2 separate regions of the Homo sapiens genome follow, and region 2 is linked to region 1. Evidence: promoter capture Hi-C in 16 types of primary human blood cells and fetal thymus (Javierre and others, 2016). All regions are on one chromosome and are shown on one strand. The core of a region is centred on a gene start or on the middle of the fragment in contact, and the rest is flanking DNA. Distances in the headings are between cores, read along the strand shown.

Evidence for each region. Contacts are between HindIII fragments. The CHiCAGO score rates a contact against its expected background, and 5 or more counts as called.
Region 2: a fragment that was not itself captured here is called in contact with the fragment with the promoter of OTUD7B in region 1 in 6 of 17 cell types (M2 macrophages, M0 macrophages, monocytes and 3 more); the score reaches 6.0 in M2 macrophages.

The regions. Positions count from the first base shown.
Region 1 is chr1:150,009,121-150,012,094 of GRCh38, forward strand. It overlaps OTUD7B (OTU deubiquitinase 7B), which reads right to left and starts at 1,606. Exons shown (of 12, transcript NM_020205.4): 1 at 1,328-1,606. RefSeq lists enhancers at 351-1,233, 598-647 and silencers at 1,168-1,457, 1,718-1,767. The HindIII fragment of the contact is 17,924 bases long and covers 913-2,974 here.
Region 2 is chr1:150,209,039-150,212,012 of GRCh38, forward strand. It overlaps the pseudogene RN7SL480P. Among named protein-coding and RNA genes, the nearest start is that of ANP32E, 26 kb to the right of the region's middle. The HindIII fragment of the contact is 5,688 bases long and covers 1-2,974 here.

The sequences.
Region 1 (2,974 bases), core at 356-2,855:
GCATAATGTATTTGTAAGTTATACACAGCAAATATTTAACTACCTCTGATTCTCCCTAGCCACCCAGCTTCCGTCCCTGAAGTCTTCTCCCCATCAGGAATGCAATCTCATTTAGTAGGAAGAAAATTTTCTACATGTTTTCAGAAGTTACATAGCATAGAAACTTTTTTAAATATTTAGGGGTTAGCAACTCTTTGGAGCCAGTCTTACCGCCACCTCTTTCTCTACTCTGTCCTTTTCCACCTTTGAAATAGATTCTGAAAGACAAAGGGATCCAGCCTCCTCAAAAATCTCCTAAATATACAGTACTAGAGGCCAAAGACTGAAAAATTAGCAGCATGTGAATTTCTAAGCAAAGCGTTACGTAGTACGTATAAAAAGATAAGGAAAATAAAAGTCAACGTCCTGCTAATTCTAGGCTTTGCATTCGTGAAAAGCTGCCTGAAAAGTTTGTGGGGAACTTCTTCCATAAAATTCCACCAGTCAGTTTCTAATTTCAAATTTTTACATCTTTATTGTGCCCAGAGAAGCCACCTAGGTTAGACAAGAAAGACTACCACGAGCGGGGAGAAAGAGACTCTGAGCGCTGGTCCTTGTGAGCCGACAAGCTAAAAATACGCCGGCCCAGTAAACAAATCCCATTCCATCCCGACCGGAGCCACACCGTTAACCTAGTAATTATGAGAAGAGTGAGATCACGCAGCCCCCGGCTTACTCATCATCAGCTTCTAAAGTTTCCATCGGCTCATGGCAACTTTTCTTTTTTCTAAAGTTCTTAAGACTGCCCTAGAATCCGTCAACCTCCGTCTCTCTCCCTCTCTCACACACACACACAAACACACACACACACCTTTTTCTCGCCTTTCCTCCATTACTGTATGCACCTTAGTTTGGCTATCAATAGGAAGAATAAGCTTATTTGCTTTTCATTTTAGTATTATATTGAGATTTTAAATGAACTTTATCCTACTGTGGGGATAATACACTGCATCTTAATCACCTTAAAACTCCACCATCCCTCCCGAAAGTCTAGCTGACAAGGGGGGACCGTCCAAACTGGCCAGCACAGCTCAGGAAGGGAGGCCGGGAGCTGGAGAGCGCGGGGTAGGAACGCAGGACGCAGGTGAAAGGGAGGAGGAAAGATCGGGACGAAGCAAGGAGCAGTCAGGGCGAGAAAGGAGTGCCGAGGGGAGATGGCTTCGGGTGAAACAGATTCAGAAAGGAGAAAGGGGACAGTGGCGATCTGAGGAGCAGAGTTTGCGAGTCTGAGAAGCCGGGAGGGGCGGGAGCAGACGGGGGACGGTGTCAGGACGGGGGGCTCCGTTACCCTCGCGGGCTCCCGGGGCAAGGCCCTAGGCCGGGGCGGAGCGCGGGGCCCGGCCGCCTCTCTTCATTCCTCGGCAGTGACCCCGGGGTCCGGCCGGCCCCTCCCCCGACGGCGATGGAGGTGGAGGCGGTGGTGGAGACTGCGACCGCAGCTGTTGCTCCGCACGGGATCTGGAGCTGGAGCCAGAAAGGACTGATCGGGACTGGCCTCCCCCAGTGGCTTTTTGCCCACTCCGCACCCGGTCGCCACTCCGGCTCCGGCGGCTGGTTCAGGATCGGTGGCTTTCTGCTGTCCGGCCGGAAACAGGCGCCAGTTTCCGGCCGGAGCGGGTTGGTGGTGACACCCAGGCCGCCCCCGGGCCTCCTCCCGCTCCGCCCCGTCGCAGCCCCGCCTTTAGCGCCGCTCCCCAGGCTGCGGCCAGTTTGGCGCTTGCCCCGCGCGTGACCCCGTGTTTTCCCGACCCGAGTCCCTAAAGCTCCTGGTCTGGAGCATTCTTGAACAGGAGTTGGAGGAGTACAGGGTGGACTCTTAGGACTCTGGGGTAGAATCAGTTGGCTACAGCCGTTGGGAAGGAGCTGAAAGGGGTGGAGTAGTTGTAGAAAGGTGAGAGAGATGAAAATACTTCAGAATGAAAAGACTGACATTCTAGTAACTCTACACAATCATTCTGGAGTGACCGGAGGAAGATTAGCTTCTTCCACACCAGTCTCCACCCAATTATATATTTCTCTTGTTCCTTCACTCTTGAAGTGAACATATCCTTCTCTGTAAACACTTAATATTTATTTACTTGCATAACAGTGATACCCTGTTGATACATCTGCTTTAGACTGCTAACAGTAAAAAAAACTTACATAGTGCGTTTGTTATGTCTTCTAGTGCGTTTGTTATGTCTTTTAAAACATTATGGCATAATTCAAATATGTATTGTATCCCTGTGATGTGTATCACTGCTCTCAGTGATACAGGGGGATACAAAAATTAACAAGACATAATCCCAGACATCAAAGGTTTTACAATTTAGTAAAATACATAAAACTATATTATATGTAGCAGAACTTGTATGTGTCCTACCTGAGTGACAATGAGCTATGGCTATGAGAACATAATAAGCCATCCTTGTCACATAGTAGACCTTCCATATTTGTTGAATGAATGAATAAGTATTAGGCCTGTGTGGACTGTTTCAAGAAAGAAAGGCCATTTAGTAAATACCTCTTTATGACAAACACAAAACGATGCCAACCCCGGCTATACTCTAACAAAAGACATTTGAAATTTTAATTCAGATTCCTAACATTATAGCACCTGGTCTGCATATTCAAAATAATGTATTGCCTAATTGTGCCCATTATGCCTATGTAAAAACAAATACTCTAGTCAACTTTTCTTTCCCCTCACTTCTTCCTCAGTTTCTAAAGGGGAGGCGTGGGGCATAGGCATTTTAGAATTGTCTAGCTCAGAATAGGAAACTGACACCTGAAACAGGGAAACTTCCTAGACAGCTATATCTCTTAGGGATACACCTGGGTTTACAATCGAAAATTTAGGGCTGGGCCCAAGGCTGTCCACACATGCTAAGGCCAAACAAGTCAGAGTGCCTTGCATGGGGGCATATCCAAGACATACAATAGAGGTTGACAAGTA
Region 2 (2,974 bases), core at 342-2,841, 200 kb after region 1:
TAATAGTGCTGAGCGTACTGCTGCCAAAGTCAGACAAACTGAACACAACAAATACTAAAACCTCTAGAAAGAATAGTGTGGATCAGGGTAGGTTCCTCATACTTGTCAAACACATAAAATATCCCTCTAGCACCCTCTCCTCCACTTCTATGCTCACCTGAGAGGATTCTGATTGTGCACTTGGCCTCTCAGTTACCTTTCCTAGAAGGGATACACGAGACCTTCACCTAGCAACATGACTACTGCACTTGAAATGTGGCTAATCCAGGCACTTTGGGAGGCCAAGGAGGGAGGATCACTTGAGCCCAGGAGTTTGAGACCAGCCTGGGCAACATGGTGAGATCCTATCTTTATAAAAAGAAAAAAAAGAAGAAGAAAGTAACTAAATAAAAATAAAACTCTGTTAAAAAAAAAAAGAAAGAAAGAAAAGTGGCTATCTGAATTGAGATTTGCTGTAAGCATAAAATCCATCCCAGATTTGGAAGACTTTGCATGAAAAAAATACAAAACATCTTACTAATGATTTTTTACATTGATTACATGTAGAAAGTATAATATTTTGAATATGTTGGGTTAATTAAAATACATTAAAATTAATTTTACCTGTTTCTTTTTAGTTTTTTAAATATGTCTACTAGAAAATTCTAAATACATCTGTGACTTGCATTTTTATTTTATTTATTTATTTATTTCTTGAGACAGAGTCTCATTCTGTCACCCAGGCTGGAGTAGAGTGGCTCGATCTTGGCTTACTGCAGCCTCTGCCTCCCAGGCACAAACAATTCTCCTACCTCAGCCTCCCGAGTAACTGGGATTACAGACACCCACCACCATGCCTGGCTAATTTTTGTGTTTTTAGTAGAGACAGGGTTTCACCATGTTGGCCAGGCTGGTCTCCAACTCCTGACCTCAGGTGATCCACCCGCCTTGGCCTCCCAAAGTGCTGGGATTATAGGTGAGAGCCACCGCACTCCACCAACTTGCATTTTTGACAGAATTATATGTCTATTAAAGAGCGCCAATTTAGAACACTGAACAATAATACCATAAACAATGTAAATATACATTCTCCCTGTAAATTAATAAATTGACAACTTGATTTAGAAATCTGACTTTGGTGAATTTTCACGGCACAAGTCTGTCCCTCACATATTGATCGATTTTGTATTTACAAACTCAAATACATCTCCTTCTATAGCCCTGCAAAATGAAGGATCACGCCTTCACTGAAGTGAGCAAATCAAAGTTTTGGCATCTTCTGAGCTTTCTGGGCACAAGCTGTCAGCTCAGCCATTTCTCTGCCTGCAATTTCGCTCTTGGTTTATAATCTTGGGTTTAGGCTGTTTTTCAAGGGATAGAGTTGGTATCATTCATATTTGTTTTCCTATCACTTATGTTCCTTAAACAAAGGATTTTAAAAGTTTGTTAAATATTCTACATTTTATGCCTTTGATCATAGCTGTAAGACTGCTTGCCTTGAAAAGGATTTGCACATAATTCTCCATGGTTTTTTTCTTAATATGTTAATTGCAAACCGCTTGTAAAGATTGAGTACATGAAGATCTGAAAGACAGCAGTTATTTACAGTCATGTAAAGTAAAAATGGCAAGTGATATCTAATTAATAGCTAATAACCTAATAATATGGAGTGGAAACTTGATAACCATTACAGCACACTGTATTTTATTATCAAGGACAGAGCCTTAGAGACAGACCACAGAATTGATGTTTCATCATTATGCGATGGCCTACATTATATGACCTCTTATTTGTCCCTCAACTCCAATAGCAACCTCAAGGCTGATATAGAATAGCAGTGGAAAGGAAAATAAATGACACAAAAAGAAAAGTAGGTTTATCATGGGACCAATGTAGTGCTTTGGCCTCATAGCAGAGACCAGATGGTAGCAGCTCCTCTCTCAGCAGGTAGCTCTTCAATATCCTACGGGTTGTAAACAACAAATTCACATCATCTCCACCTGCTAATAAGTATTTTTTAAAATATTGCGGCAACATCGAAACAATGCTGAAAATACAATCCCTCAATATAAGAAAAAAAGTTTTCCTAAATATTTAGTCTGTTAAAAGAAAAAGTCTTTTCTGAGAAATGCTATTACCCACTAGAAAATCTTGGCTTCTTAAAATCCAAGAATATTCTCATCTCTTTTTTTTTTTTTTTTCTTTTTTTGAGACAGAGTCTCACTCTGTTGCCCAGGCCAGAGTGCAGTGGCGCGATCTTGGCTCACTGCAAGCTCCACCTCCCAGGTTCAAGCGATTCTCCTGCCTCAGCCTCCTGAGTAGCTGGGATTACAGGCACGTGCCACCATGCCCGGCTAATTTTTGTATTTTTTAGTAGAGACGAGGTTTCACCATATTGGCCAGGCTGCTCTCCAACTCCTGACCTTGTGATCCACCTGCCTCGGCGTCCCAAAGTGTTGGGATTACAGGCGTGAGCCACAGCGCTCGGCCTCTTTTTTTTAAATAAAGTAAATGGCCCTCATTTTACCCAATTTTGTGACTTTGTAAAAGCCAATGAAAATGCCTGAGAAACTACTGACATTAGTTTTACTGCAGTTAAATATTTGTTAACTTTGCCAGGCGCGGTGTCCCGTGCCTGTAGTCCCAGCTACTTGGGAGGCTGAGGCAGGAGACGGCTTGAGCCCAGGAGTTCTGGGCTGTAGTGTGCTATACCGATCGCGTGTCCGCACTAAGTTCGGCACCAATATGGTGACCTCCCAGGAACAGGGGACCACGAGGTTGCCTAAGGGGAGGGGTAAACTGGCCAAGGTCAGAAATAGAGCAGGTCAAAACTCCCGTGCGGATCAGTAGCAGGATCGTGCTTGTGAATAGCCACTGCACTCCACCCTGGGTAACAGACCCTGTCTCTCTAGATAGATAGATAGATAGATAGATAGATAGATAGATAGATAGATAGATAGAGCGTATATATATACATATGCTAATTCTATAGAAA